Linked DNA regions of Homo sapiens: regions 1, 2, 4 and 5 are each linked to region 3. The links are contacts of gene promoters, found by promoter capture Hi-C in blood cells and fetal thymus (Javierre and others, 2016). All regions are on one chromosome and are shown on one strand. Each heading gives the region's core, a stretch centred on a gene start or on the middle of the fragment in contact. The rest is flanking DNA. Distances are from core to core; before and after follow the strand shown. Region 1 overlaps WASHC4 (WASH complex subunit 4). Region 2 overlaps SLC41A2 (solute carrier family 41 member 2). Region 3 holds the start of TXNRD1-AS1 (TXNRD1 antisense RNA 1). Region 4 overlaps ALDH1L2 (aldehyde dehydrogenase 1 family member L2). Region 5 overlaps NOPCHAP1 (NOP protein chaperone 1).

The links. Contacts are between HindIII fragments. The CHiCAGO score rates a contact against its expected background, and 5 or more counts as called.
Region 1: a fragment that was not itself captured here is called in contact with the fragment with the promoter of TXNRD1-AS1 in region 3 in 8 of 17 cell types (neutrophils, fetal thymus, total CD4 T cells and 5 more); the score reaches 9.4 in neutrophils.
Region 2: a contact is called between a fragment that was not itself captured here and the fragment with the promoter of TXNRD1-AS1 in region 3, in 1 of 17 cell types (neutrophils). The highest score is 6.3, in neutrophils.
Region 4: a fragment that was not itself captured here is called in contact with the fragment with the promoter of TXNRD1-AS1 in region 3 in 2 of 17 cell types (total B cells and naive B cells); the score reaches 7.7 in total B cells.
Region 5: a contact is called between a fragment that was not itself captured here and the fragment with the promoter of TXNRD1-AS1 in region 3, in 2 of 17 cell types (monocytes and fetal thymus). The highest score is 6.2, in monocytes.

What each region holds. Positions count from the first base shown.
Region 1 is chr12:105,112,642-105,115,341 of GRCh38, reverse strand. It overlaps WASHC4 (WASH complex subunit 4), which reads right to left. Exons shown (of 33, transcript NM_015275.3): 3 at 1,073-1,126; 4 at 915-980; 5 at 113-158. Among named protein-coding and RNA genes, the nearest start is that of WASHC4, 6.3 kb to the right of the region's middle. The HindIII fragment of the contact is 1,253 bases long and covers 678-1,930 here.
Region 2 is chr12:104,834,198-104,836,897 of GRCh38, reverse strand. The region is part of intron 10 of SLC41A2 (solute carrier family 41 member 2); the gene reads left to right. Among named protein-coding and RNA genes, the nearest start is that of SLC41A2, 120 kb to the left of the region's middle. The HindIII fragment of the contact is 4,028 bases long and covers 1-2,700 here.
Region 3 is chr12:104,279,573-104,282,272 of GRCh38, reverse strand. It overlaps TXNRD1-AS1 (TXNRD1 antisense RNA 1), which reads left to right and starts at 1,430. Exons shown (of 2, transcript XR_007063431.1): 1 at 1,430-1,989. All of the region lies in intron 3 of TXNRD1 (thioredoxin reductase 1), which reads right to left. RefSeq lists a silencer at 1-202. The HindIII fragment of the contact is 3,745 bases long and covers 1-2,700 here.
Region 4 is chr12:105,064,678-105,067,411 of GRCh38, reverse strand. It overlaps ALDH1L2 (aldehyde dehydrogenase 1 family member L2), which reads left to right. Exons shown (of 23, transcript NM_001034173.4): 5 at 743-844; 6 at 2,056-2,145. Among named protein-coding and RNA genes, the nearest start is that of ALDH1L2, 18 kb to the left of the region's middle. The HindIII fragment of the contact is 7,481 bases long and covers 1-2,734 here.
Region 5 is chr12:104,994,555-104,997,254 of GRCh38, reverse strand. NOPCHAP1 (NOP protein chaperone 1) reads right to left here. Exons shown (of 4, transcript NM_152318.3): 4 at 1-2,700. The coding sequence ends at 2,559. Among named protein-coding and RNA genes, the nearest start is that of NOPCHAP1, 9.6 kb to the right of the region's middle. The HindIII fragment of the contact is 2,723 bases long and covers 1-2,632 here.

The DNA.
Region 1 (2,700 bases), core at 55-2,554, 830 kb before region 3:
ATACTTATTTTTCTCACACTATTATATAATCATAGTAGTCCTAAAATTGTCTGTTAACTTTTTGTTCATTTCAATATCAAAAAGGCATCACAATTTGGAATTTTAAACTTACCTCCTTCTCCATAAAACAAGAGACCATTGTAAAATTTAGTTTCAGCCTGTTTTTAAGAAAAAAATTAAAATAATTTTAAAGGTTGTTTTGTTTCCAAATTCCTATGCTCTCTTAGATCTGTATACTTAGTAATAAACAGAGGGCTACATCATTTGCATACAAATTCATTTAAATTCAAAATCTGTTTATAAAGCAATTCATCTTTAGAGTAACAAAAATATTACTGATACTCAAAGCTGTATCTTGATTCCTTTAGCCTTTACTTCATCTTATCTGACCACCCTCACTGTCCCACATCCTCCCATTAGTTTATGGGAAATAAAGAGCAACCACATGGTATCAAAAAGCAGGAGAAGAAAATACGAAGTTTGTCAACTTCTACCAGACTTTTAATGGTTCTTGGGTAAGGAAACACAAAACTAAATGCATTTTAAGAAAAAAAAATCAGTTTTCTCTAGATAGCCAGTATATATGGCAGGTAACACAAACTCTGGAGGTTTGTAAACCTAGATTCAAACTGTTGACTACCAGTAAGATGTTATGCAAGTGACACTCTCTTTAAGCTTCAGTTTCCTCATCAATGTCTCACCTACCTCCTGGGGTTACTATAAGGATTACAGTGTTAGCCTGGTGTTTTGTACATACTAAGTACTCAATGAATGGTAGTCCGTATTAGTATTACGTTAAATAAATAATTCATTCAACATTCAATAAATATTTATTGCACACTGTACATATATAAACACATACTTGCTTCTAAATGATGTTTTTAAAGTTTTAAGACAAGAATTCAAATAATTACCTCATATTTTAATTTCTTGATTTCACAACAAAGTGCAGCATAAACAGTGATGACTTTGTTTAAGACCTAGTTTCATGAGTAAAAACAAAATAAAAAGTAAATTGTTACAGATAACTAAAACATTTTTAAAACAATTTTTTAGATTTAGGATTCTGTACCTTGTTTTCAGTCTTTATGAGTTCCAAAAGAGAGGACTGTTCATAAGGCAAAAGCTACAGAAACAAAGGAAAAGAACATTTCTTTTAATTTGAAAAATAACTGAAATTTTAAAAACACAAATTGAGGCTAGCTTTATTCGACTTAAACTTGTGTTAGATCCTGTACTCAACATTAGCACCATATCAACTACTTCATCCAAAACAATCTCATTAGACAACACGTAAGGAAAGAAATGGCCCAACATGACACAATCACGACTCTACTTGTCCTATGGAGCATAAGGTGGCTGATTATGAGTGCAGTATAAGAAAATGCAAGGTAATAAGGTAATAGTAACATTATTAAACTCCATTAGTTATGATCATGGGGAAAAACCTTTCATCATTTTTGAATTTTCTATGCAGCCACAAATTTAATAAGATATTGTAGCTAAAGGGTCAAAATAAATTAAGAATGAAACAAGACAGAAAATACATCTTTTCTTGTATAAATCCATGCTCAGAAACACTTAAAATAGTATGTGGAGTTCACTCCTAAAGCCCGTTCAATTTCCACCTCTTCCTGATCATTGACTATATGTGATCTATTTATCAAGTGAAATCTCAGATCTCCCTTCTGGTTACATACTAACTAACTATTTATGCAAGTAAGTTATTATATACCCTTTCTCATTAGGTTGTAATTTTTGTTTACAGAGGTTTTATCTGAGTTTGTGGTTTTTCCCAAAATACTAAGAACCTTGTATAGTAAAAACAATAAAATAACTGCCCAATAATAGAACTTAAACAGAGGTTCCGAAGAGAGCAACTGCGGAGATGGAGTCTGTCATATAATAAGATTGTAAAGATTAGAAAGCTTCTGTAGGGGAAGATAAAAACTAAGAGATGATTTCACCCTTTTATAAAATCTGAGAGTTGAGAAAAAAAACAGATTTTATAATCCTATCTAGAAGAGGCCCTTAAAGCCCAACAGCAAGTCTTAAAAAAATCAACAAGTATTACTTAATGGCGAGAAAGCCCAACAGCATCTGTTTAAAAAATCAACATGTATTACTTAATGCCAAGTGACAGATATATGAAACTTATTACCCTCAGAGATAGTACAGGTTGAGAATGACAGTTTCCTAGTAGAGTTCCTATAACTTACATACAATGATTCTCACAGAAGTGTTGAGGAACAAAAAGAGACAATTACAAATTTGGGGGGGGATGATTTTTAAAGTAAGACTAAGTCTATCCAGCCTGCAAGAAAAGAAGTCAAAGGAAAGTAATTTCAGTTTACAAATATATAAAGTATTTGTGAGGCAGTTCAGGGTATTGGATAAGGGCACAGGCTCTGGAGTCAAGCTGCCTGATATTCATTATTTAACTAAATGTGTCACTTACTTGACTAAGTTACTTAACTTTTCTATGCCTTAGTTTTCTCATTTACAAATGGAGATGACATTGTATCTACTTTATAGGATTGTGGTGGGAATTAAAAGTCAATACTTGTCCTATAATGCAATACTAAAAAGATAACCCAATTTAAAAATGGGCAAAGGATGTGAACAGACATTTCTCCAAAGAAAACAGACACATGGCCATAAGCACATGAAAAGATGCTCAACATTATTAGCCATCAGAAA
Region 2 (2,700 bases), core at 61-2,560, 550 kb before region 3:
AATACTAAAACAATCTGGCAATTAAAATAGTCTATTAATATTAAAATCATCTGTTGTTACTCCTAGAGTAATATTAAGTTAAACTGGCTTGTATGGATTAGCCAGAAAACCCAGGCAATACAGAAAACCTTGTTTTCCTGAAAACAATTGTATTCCAAGTCTAAATAGCTAATTTTAAATTCATCTATTAGACACTATCAATTTTTAAATTTGTTTGACCTAAAACAATCTCCTTCAGGTTTCCAGATGGACTCCTTGGTTCTACTGTCTCTGTACTTTACCTAGAAAGTGTATATTCACCTATCTCTGCCATCATTTGATTTATTATTTTATAGTGTTCAGTTATATCTTCTCTTGATCTGTAACTTTTCAGAGGAAAATGGTACTGCTTCATTTATATATAAGCCATTTTATATGCTTCACCTAAATTGTTTCTTCTGAAAGTTTTTGATCTCTAACAGTTCCCCTCTTGGAACTGGAGCCACTTTTCCAATCTACATATGAGTTTCAAAAATAATAATGGCAAATATTTGTATAGTATTTATCATGAGCCATACAATGTTCTAGGCACTTTATGTATATGAACTGATTGAGTCCTCACAACAGCCCAGTAAGGAAGGTTCTGTTATCATTTCCTATTCACAGATGAGGCAGTTGGCATAGAAGTTAAGTGATTTGTCCAAGTCCACACAGCAAGATGGAGACTGGCTCCAGTCTACATTCCTAACCACTGTGTTTTATAAGAATAAGTTTGGGGCTGGGTGTGGGACTCACACCTCTAATCCCAGCATTTTGGGAGGCCAAGGCGGATGGATCACCTGAACTCAGGAGTTTGAGACCAGCCTGGCCAACATGGTGAAACCCCATCTCTACTAAAAATACAAAATTAGCTGGGCATGGTGGCTTGTGCCTGTAATCTCAGCTACTGTGGAGGCTGAAGCAGGAGAATCACTTAGAACCCAGGAGGCGGAGGTTGCAGTGAGCTGAGATCATGCCACTGCACTCCAGCCTGGGCAACAGAGCAAGACTCTGTCTCAAAAAAAAAATGATGCTTTGTTTTGCTCTTAGTGAGGATCATAGTTTTTAGGATGGCAACTTCTAAAGATTTACAGCTGCCTCTTCTCTGTGGTTTCATTAGATCTTCAACTTCTTCCAGCCAGGCATATTGCCCCAGAAGGATATTCATTCCACAGGATCCATACCGAATCAATGCCTACTGAAGTCAAGTAGGAATCCATTCCAAGCACATAAATATCTCCTGAATGTTCTGAGAGAAGGACAAACTGCTATGGAAGTTCAATAGTGGGAGAGGTTTTTCTATGTGGGGAGGAAGTTTTATAGTGGATAACAATTTGCTTTGTTGGAATCCATAGAAAATGCCGTTTCAGCTAAAAGGAGTAGCATTAGGCAAATGAGAAAAACTCAGGGTATTTATGGAAAACAGCCAGAAATTTCCTGGAGTTAAAAGGAGTGATGAAAAATAAGGTTAGAAATTATAGGTTGTAGCAAGATCATCAAGGAGCTTAAAGAACAGATGATAAAGAGTTTAGTTTATTCTATAGAGTGGTGATTTTCAACTATTTTCCACTCCCAACAAACTTGAGAGATCTGACACATTCCTCTGATGCAGTGTGAGATAATTTATAGGGCTTGGGCTCTGGCTTCCACCATCAAATACCTGCATCAGCTAGGCAGTCACTGCTCAGGCACTGTTTCCCACCTGTATAAAGGGGCTAAGACTAGACCAACCTTGTGGGTTGTTATAAGGATGAAATGATGCATTTAAGGTGCTATTATTTTCATCATTATTGTCTTATTTTTTAATATCAACATCATCATCATCAATAGCTATGGATTACTGGGACAGTGACTCTCTTAGGGTGGCAGTGGAGCAATCAGAACCTATGAAACCAGCATTAAGAGTCTCTACCTTGATTCTGATACCTTACTCCATTCCTTGGAGTCACTTTTCTAGATAAGGAAGAATGTAGCCATATGGTAACAACATGACTATAATTGGAATCCCAGGATAACTACCCAGTAGCTGAGCAAGTTAATTAGCTTGGCCTCAGGCAAGTTACTTTATTCCTTGGAGTCTTATTTTCTTTGCATATAAAATGATAAGGCTTCCTTTTTGCACAGCAGTTATAATATTTAAATACTTGACACATAGTAGGCCCTCATTAAATGATGTAGTTATGTCTTTTTTTTTTTTTAAATCATGATGCTAACTCAAACCCTGTTCCCAGATGGCATCTCAAAGGAAAAACCTAAGCAACCAGGAGATTTAAACAGGTTACTTAATCTTCATATTTCTTCTCACTCCTCAGGATTTAATTCTACCAGATTCTAACTGAAAGTAGGAGCTCTTTATTTTGTCTATGTGACTGTTCTGCCTCTGTCTCTTAATTGGTTTCTCTGTCTGTCAGCTTGGGTTGAAGGAGAAGTATAAAGAGAATGATAAAGGAGATATGAAGGGAGGGCCTATAGTTCCTAGAATTTTTTTTCTAGCTGTAAAAACAGCTCCTTTAACTTTTGGAGTTGATCAATATGCTTACCTTAAGATAGGAAGTTAAAGCAGGTGAATTTTTGAGATTATTTTTTAACAGCCTCGTGATTGCATTTTTGTTATGTGTGATTATGCTATTATAGCTTAGGTTGTAAGGTCTCAAATTGAGACACCTTTCTAAATCCATATTT
Region 3 (2,700 bases), core at 181-2,680:
TAAGAGAACTTGCTGAAACTCTAGGACTAATTTTGCCCACTGCCATCACTCACCAGAGCTTGCTAGCTCCCCAAACCCTAACTAGTCCCAAAGAACTTTCTTGAAGAGCAATATGTAACAGCTCTCCTGTTTCTAAAACCTCTAACCTTCTCTTTGTTCTTCAGACATACTGAAGACCACCCTGTCTGCATATATGCCCCAAATTGCTATTCTTTCTTTCCAAATAAAAAATTTTAATTTAGAGACTTGTCTCACATTTTTATTCTGGCTTCAACATACTAAAGCCCTAAGCTAGGAGTCTGCTTGACTTATCCAAGAATCCACAAAGTAACCAGTATGTCTAAAGCCTAATGAGTGAGAAAAAAAGTGGTAGGAAGTGAGGTCAGAGGAATAGCCAGGGGTCACATCCATCATCAGGCCATAGTCAGGATTTTGGATTTCATTTTAAATGTGGTAAGATGCCAGAGTGTGAAGAGAAGAGAAGGAAATGATTGTTGTATGATAAAATAATTGCTCAGTTGTGTGGAAAATAGGCTAAGGAGGGCAGGGACTTAAAAGTGGAGATATGGCCGGGCTCGGTGGCTCATGTCTGTAATCCCAGCACTTCAGGAGGCTGAGGCGGGCGGATCACGAGGTCAGGAGATTGAGATGAGCCTGGCTAACACAGTGAAACCCCATCTCTACTAAAAATACAAAAAATTAACCGGGCGTGGTAGCAGGCGCCTGTAGTCCCAGCTACTGGGGAGGCTGAGGCAGGAGAATGGCGTGAACCCGGGAGGCGGAGTTTGCAGTGAGCCGAGATCCCACCACTGCACTCCAGCCCGGGCGACACAGTGAGACTCCATCTCAAAAAGAAAAAAAAAAAAAAAAAAAGTGGAGATATGGAGATATACAGACCTGCTAGGAAGTTACTGTCCTGGTCCAAGCTAGAGATGATAAAGGCTGATTAGTGAGGTTAAAAAATACATTTGAAGGTAAAGCTAATTGCACAGATATATGTTGTACAGTTGTACAGATGGATGGAATAAGAGATGTAAGAGAAAGAGAATCAATGATAACGCTAGATTTCTGGCTTTAGCAATGGGGTAAATAATAGCACTCTTCAATGAAAAGCAGGAACACCCAGAGAGGAGGAAGAAAGATGGGAGGTGGGGGAAAACAATAGTTTGGGACAAATCCATAGTATGGGTTAACAGATCTATTATTATCCAAATGGAGAGGTTGACTAAGCAGTTGGATATGTAAGTATGGAGTTCAAGGGAGAAGTCAAGGCTAGAAATAAACATTTGGTGTCAAACATAAAAGATATTTAATACCATGTGTATTAGTCACAGCTCTTCAGAGAAACAGAACCAATAGGATACATGTATATATAGAGAGATTTTTTTCTTTTCTTTTTTTTAAAGAATTGACTCACACAGTTGTGAGGGCTGATAAGTCTGAAAACTCCAAGGCTGGCTGATAGGCTGGAAATTCAAGCAGGCATTGATGTGGCAATCTTGAGACTAACGGTGGTCTGGGTGCAGAATTGCTTCCTCTTTGGGAAACCTCCATCTTTTCTCTAAGGTCTTCAACTAATTGGATGAAGCCCATCCACATTATGGAGGGTCACTAGCTTTACTCAAAGCCTACTGATTTCATTGTAAGTCACATCTAAAAAATACCTTCACAGCAACATCTATGCTTTTATCTGCCAAACAACTGGGCACCGTATGCTAGCCAAGTTGACACATAAAATTAACTGTCACTCCATGGGACTAGATGAAATTACCCAGGAGTTAATGTATTTAGAGAAATAAAGATGGCCCAGGACAGAGCCCTGGCACGCTCAAACTGCAAAAGGGGAAAAGAACCCAGCAATGGAGCCTAAGAAGGAGCTGGCAGGAGGTAGGAGGAAAACCAAGACTGTGTGGTGTCTCAGAAGCCAATGAAGAAGTGCTCCAAAAAGGAAGATCAACTATTTCAAGCACTGCCAAGAAATCCTATAAGGTAAGGGCTGAGTCATGGAGGTCACTTATGAAAATGGTGGTAGGTAAGAAATCCTAATTAGAAGAAGTTCAGCAAGAAACAGAAAATAAGGAAATGGAGGGAGTAAGTATAGGCAACTCTTAAAGGGGTTTTGCTATAAAAACAAAACAAAACAAAACAACAATAGGAAAGGAGCTAAAGAGGGATGTAGGATAGAGGAATTTTTTTTTTTTTTTTTTTTTGAGACAGAGTCTCACTCTGTCACCCAGGCTGGAGTGCAGAGGCACGATCTCAGCTCATTGCAACCTCTGCCTCCTGGGTTCAAGCAATTCTCCTGCCTCAGCCTCTCGAGTAGCTGGGACTACAGGTGCATGCCACCACACCCAGCTAATTTTTGTATTTTCAGTAGAGAGAGGGTTTCACCATGTTGGCCAGGCTGGTCTTCAACTCCTGACTTCGTGATCCACCCTCCTCGGCCTCCCAAAGTGCTGGGATTACAGGGGTGAGCCACCGTGCCTGGCCAGACTTTTTGGTTTTTTTGGTTTGTCTAAGAAGGAAATTATTACAGCATGTTTTTATGCTAAAGGAATAATCCAGTAGAGGGAACTTTGGCAATTTCCAAAGAAGGAGCAAAAAGAGATAATTGCAGAACCAAAGTCTGTTGAATATACCCTTATTATGCAGTGTAGACTTTGAAGTCAAATCCAGGTTCTATTACTAACTGCAAAGCCA
Region 4 (2,734 bases), core at 3-2,502, 790 kb before region 3:
TCATTTCCAGTGAATCACTAAGGGAGGTGGCAGTTTGTTTAAACAAGGGAGTCATTTTTGAGAGTGCAGACTTCGATTGGCAATAGATAGACCTGGATACAAATCCTGTTTCTGACACCTACAAGCTCTCTCTGTGATCTTCAGCCAATTGCTTAGCTCTTTTTCTTTTTCTTTTCTTTTTTTTTTTTTTTTTTTTGAGACAGAGTCTCGCTCTGTCGCCCAGGCTGGAGTGCAGTGGTGTGATCTCGGCTCACTGCAAGCTCTGCCTCCCGGGTTCACGCCATTCTCCTGCCTCAGCCTCCTGAGTAGCTGGGACTACAGGCGCCCACCACCACGCCCGGCTGATTTTTTGTATTTTTAGTAGAGACGGGGTTTCACCGTGGCCTCGATCTCCTGACTTCGTGATCCGCCTGCCTTGGCCTCCCAAAGTGCTGGGATTACAGGCGTGAGCCACTGCGCCCGGCCTTGCTTAGCTCTTTTTCTGTCAGTTTCCTCAGGTGTAAAACAGGAATAACAATATACACCTTGCAGGATTTGTGTTATGTTTTCAAGGGATATTTTACATAAAGTAGCTACCACACTGCTTGTCAGGATGGACCTGAAGAAATGGTAGTTATCATCATACTCTTGACTCTCTGAACAGGTTTATAGGTAGTAATTCTGTTATGCAGAAACTTTAGTCAAATAGACCATGCCATTGTTGATCATTGGGCTGTAACACAGGTGATGTCTTTGGCCTTAGGTAGAAGCTGTCCAACTCATAGCTGATGGAAAAGCTCCTCGTATACCCCAGCCAGAAGAAGGGGCAACATATGAAGGTATCCAGAAAAAGGAAAATGCTGAGGTATTTATATATCAACTCAATAACACGTCTCAGAGTTCATGGCCCTCTACCCTTCAGTAGTTCCCCACATACTATGATCTTGCCAAAAGGTAAGCCAGCTTGCCCTAGCCCTACCTGTTAGAGTAGACAGGTAGCCAGACATACGCAGGAGAGGGGAGTCCCCTAAAGAAAATAAAGTCTAGGAAGACTCGTGTCTGGAAGACCACTCAAAATTTGCATATTAATAGTATCTCTAATGCTGGAGTGGGTGGGCACTTAGTCAAATGTGCATAGAAAGGAGAGGAGATACTATGCAAACAAACAAACAAACAAGCAAATAAAAAATGCCCAGAAACGCCTCTTCAGTCTGCCCAACAATCCTTCGCTCTGCAGTTAAAATGTCAAAATATCACTAGCTACATGCTAATGAAAAGGGCAAAGGGGATATTCCTTAAAAAATCTGGCATGCTAGGTGCGCTGGGCACAGTGGCTCATGCCTGTAATCCCAGCACTTTGGGAGGCTGAGGGAGGAGGATCACTTGAGACCAGGCATTCGAGACCAGCCTGGCCAACACAGTGAGACCCCTGTCTCAAAAAACAAAAAACAAAAACCTGGAGCCATAAGTTCAGCTTAGGGCAGAGAAGGAAATTCCAAAAAAACACACAGATGCAGTAGGTATAGATTTGGCCACTATACAACCTCCCTGCAGTGACAATAGTAAACAACACAGGCATCAGGTAATATTCATATCCAACACCAATCCACACATACACACCAACTAATAATATGGAGGGTCCCATAAACCTGAGACAAAATCTAGGTGCGGACAAAGCAGAGAGCTAAGACAGACACAAACAAACTAGACAAAAAAAAAAAGAGGCAGAGACTTAACAGAGGTGGGAACTTCAAAAAAAAGTTCAACCTAATAAAAACCCAACATAAAACTCTCCAACAGCTACTGGCCTACTCCCCTCAACAGCCCGCTCTACTTCATCTTTACAAAGCATACTGTCCCTTTAAATAACCCTCTGCTTTTTATTTTCCTTTAATAAAGTCTCTTGTTTACTAAATCAGCCACCTGACAAAATACTTACTCCAAATAAAACTAAGAAGCAAAAATTCCTTTATTTCCCAATAACAAGTGTTTCTGCCTCTGATGACGAGAAGCGTTTTTATTGCCTTTGAGGTTCACAGCCATAGGAGGCTCAGCCTGTATTTTGTGCCTTCCTAGATTTCTTGGGACCAGTCTGCCGAAGTTTTACATAACTGGATTCGAGGTCATGATAAAGTCCCTGGAGCTTGGACAGAGATAAATGGACAGGTATGTTTTAGGGACCACTCCCCCCACCCCCCTCCCCGATTATTACCTTTGTAAGAGATATTACAGATAAATCTGGGCTTCCCATGGTTCTTCCTTGGTCATGAGGCAGGTCTGTGATTCACTCTCCCCTTTACTCAGCATGTATTAAGCATTTATTGTGCAGCAGACACTAAATCCAGCGCCTGATCTAAGGAGCCTGCAGTTTTATGGGGAGTGCAGAGAAGTGAATAAACATTCTCAGTGCAGTAAGATAAACGCTATCATGGAGGCTGAGACTCAGGCATGTTAGGAAAGGCTTCCTAGAAAAGCTCACTGCTTTGCTCGAGAAGAGTTAACCAGGTTGAGAGCAAGACAAGTAGGTGAAGCCCCAGAGATAAGAGACTCCAGCACCTGGTCAAGGACTTGCAAAAGGAGTTCAGTGAAGCCAGGGTCTGAACTGTGAGGACAGGCATGGGGAGAGCTGAGGCGGGAGAGGCGGGCAGGGCCTGAAGGGTCTTCTATCCATGGGTAATTGACTCAGCCCAGGCTCTCAGGTTTCACCTCTTCGGGGAGGTTTCCTGATCTCACATGCCCAGACTGGCAGGGTCTG
Region 5 (2,700 bases), core at 22-2,521, 720 kb before region 3:
GGGAGTGCTAACTATATAAAGGAAAGACTGGGTTACCAGCCGCTACAAAAACACACTTAAGTAGGTAGATTAGTAACACTATAAAGCAACCACACAGACAAGTCTGCATGGTAACCAGCTAACAATATGATGACAGGATCAAATGCACACATATCAATACTAACCTTGAATGTAAATGGGCTAAATGCCCCAATCAAAAGAAACAGTGTGGCAACTTGGATAAAGAAGCAAAATCCAATGGTATGCTATCTTCAAGAGACCCACCTCACATGCAGTGACACTCAGAAGCTCAAAGTAAAGGGATGGAGAAAACTCTACCAAGCAAACAGAAAGAAAAAGGCAGGGGTTGCTATTTTAATTTCAGACAAAACATACTTTTACAAAAATAAAAAAAGACAAAGAAGGGCATTACATAATGATAAAGGGCTTAATTCAATAAGACCTAACTATCCTAAACATACATGCACCCAACAGAGAAGCACCCAGATTCATAAAGCAAGCATTCAGAGACCTACAAAGAGAGCTAGATAATAGTGGGAGACTTTAACACCCCACTGACAGTATTAGGCAGATCATCAAGGCAGAAAGCTAACACAGATGATCAGGACCTAAGCAACCAACACAGGAACAGAAAAATACCACATGTTCTCACTTATTAGTGGGAGCTAAACGTTGAGTACACATGGATGCAAAGAAGGGAACCAGACATTAGGGCCCACTTGAGGATGGAGGGTGGGAGGAGGGTGCAGATTTAAAACTACCTATTGGGCACTATGCTTATCACCAGGTGATGAAATAATCTGTACACCAAACCCCCACAATACCCAATTTGTCTATATAACAAACCTCCACATGTACCTCTGAACCTAAAAGTTAAAAAAAAAAAAAATGAAAATAATAAAATGTAAAACATCTTTTTAAAAGGAGGGGAACTATAAAAAAGTAAGTTTCCTCCTGGACCTTGTTCAGGAGCTATGCAGATGTACCAGTGGATGAACTGAACTGACTGATGCTCAAATACCACTAGGTAGCCCTCTTTTCCAGCCTCAGAGGGTCTGCCTGTATTGGTCTACAGAAAATATGCTTACTCCATTTTGCTCCCCACTGGTTAGGATCTTGCTATTTGGCATGGTTCAATCCTGCCTTCCAAATAGCTTCCCCAAAAGTCCCCATAAATACCTCCTATTATCAGAGTCTAAAATGGTCAGCAATTGAAATTTGCACCAACCTTGGAATAGATGAAGAAAATAAAGATAAGCTAGTTTCCAGCCGGGCACGGTGGCTCATGCCTGTAATCCCAACACTTTGGCAGGTCAAGAAGGGTGGAACACGAGGTCAGGAGATTGAGACCATCCTGGCTAACACGGTGAAATCCCGTCTCTACTAAAAATACAAAAAAAAAAAAAATTAGCCGGGCATGGTGGTGGGCGCCTGTACTCCCAGCTACTGAGGAGGCTGAGGCAGGAGAATGGCGTGAACCCGGGAGGCAGAGCTTGTAGTGAGCTGAGATCGCGCCACTGCACTCCAGCCTGAGCAACAGAGCAAGACTCCATCTCGAAAAAAAAAAAGATATGCTAGTTTCCACTGAGGAAAGATTACAGTGGGGCTCCTGGGGACTCACTCTTTGTAGTGGTTGGGTGCTAGTCATATGGAATTTAAAACTAATGCACAGATAGGGAAAAATCTTATTTTATGACCAACCAGACCTCCTGGGGTAGGAGCCACCCTCTGAAAGCATTTAACAAAAGCACTTAATGGGATATCATGCAGCCTTAGATCTCCTCTTTGCTCATGTTGGGGGTTATGTATGGTGCTAAACAAAACTGAATGTTGTACCTATTTTTCCAGATTTTGCTACTACAGAAAATTCAATACAATTTGTAGCTGACACTATTGTTTCTTTGGACACTGCCACCATATGCATGAAAGAAATTTCTCAAGGGAACAGAACACATGATGTTTGCAGGAGGAGCTAATGGTTAGTTTGCAGGCATCCCAAACAGTGGACGACATGCTGGGCTTAGGTCTCCTCTTTGCCTTATTTAGGCAAACACCTAGCTGTAACCCATCAAGTTATTCCTGTACTCTACACACCAAAACCTAACTCAGGAGTGTATTTTTATAACAAATAGCCAAGTCTGGCCAATCACAAACAGCCAAGCCTCAGCCCATCGGACAAGGCAGCCTTAGATCTCCTTAGATCAGACCATACCTATGGGACATCAGGCAGCCTTAGGTCTCCTCTTTGCCTTATTTAGGCAAACACCTAGCTGTAACCCATCAAGTTATTCCTGTACTCTACTTCTGTGTTCAGCTGATAAAAGCACACTTTCCTTGCTGTAGAGCGGAGGTCTCTGAACCCCTTTCAGTTTACAATGCTACCTAACTCATTAATCATTCTTTGCCCAAAGAAACTCTGTCAAATTTAACTTGTCTAAAGTTTTTAACATATAAAAGCACCATAGGTGCCTGAAAAGCAAAAGAACCCGTGAATCACATTCTTTTTCACAGAATTTGCAGACATATGTCACCTGTTTCTTTTCAGATAATTTATTTGACTATTTCTTTTTTTTACTTGCTGGACTGTCCAAAACTTCAATCTTGCCTTTTCCACCTTCAGAATTGGGAAGCTTAATGTTATCTATGGTGACTTCAGATGGGATGCTGTCATCTTCGTCTTCTGATTCTGAACTGTTCTCT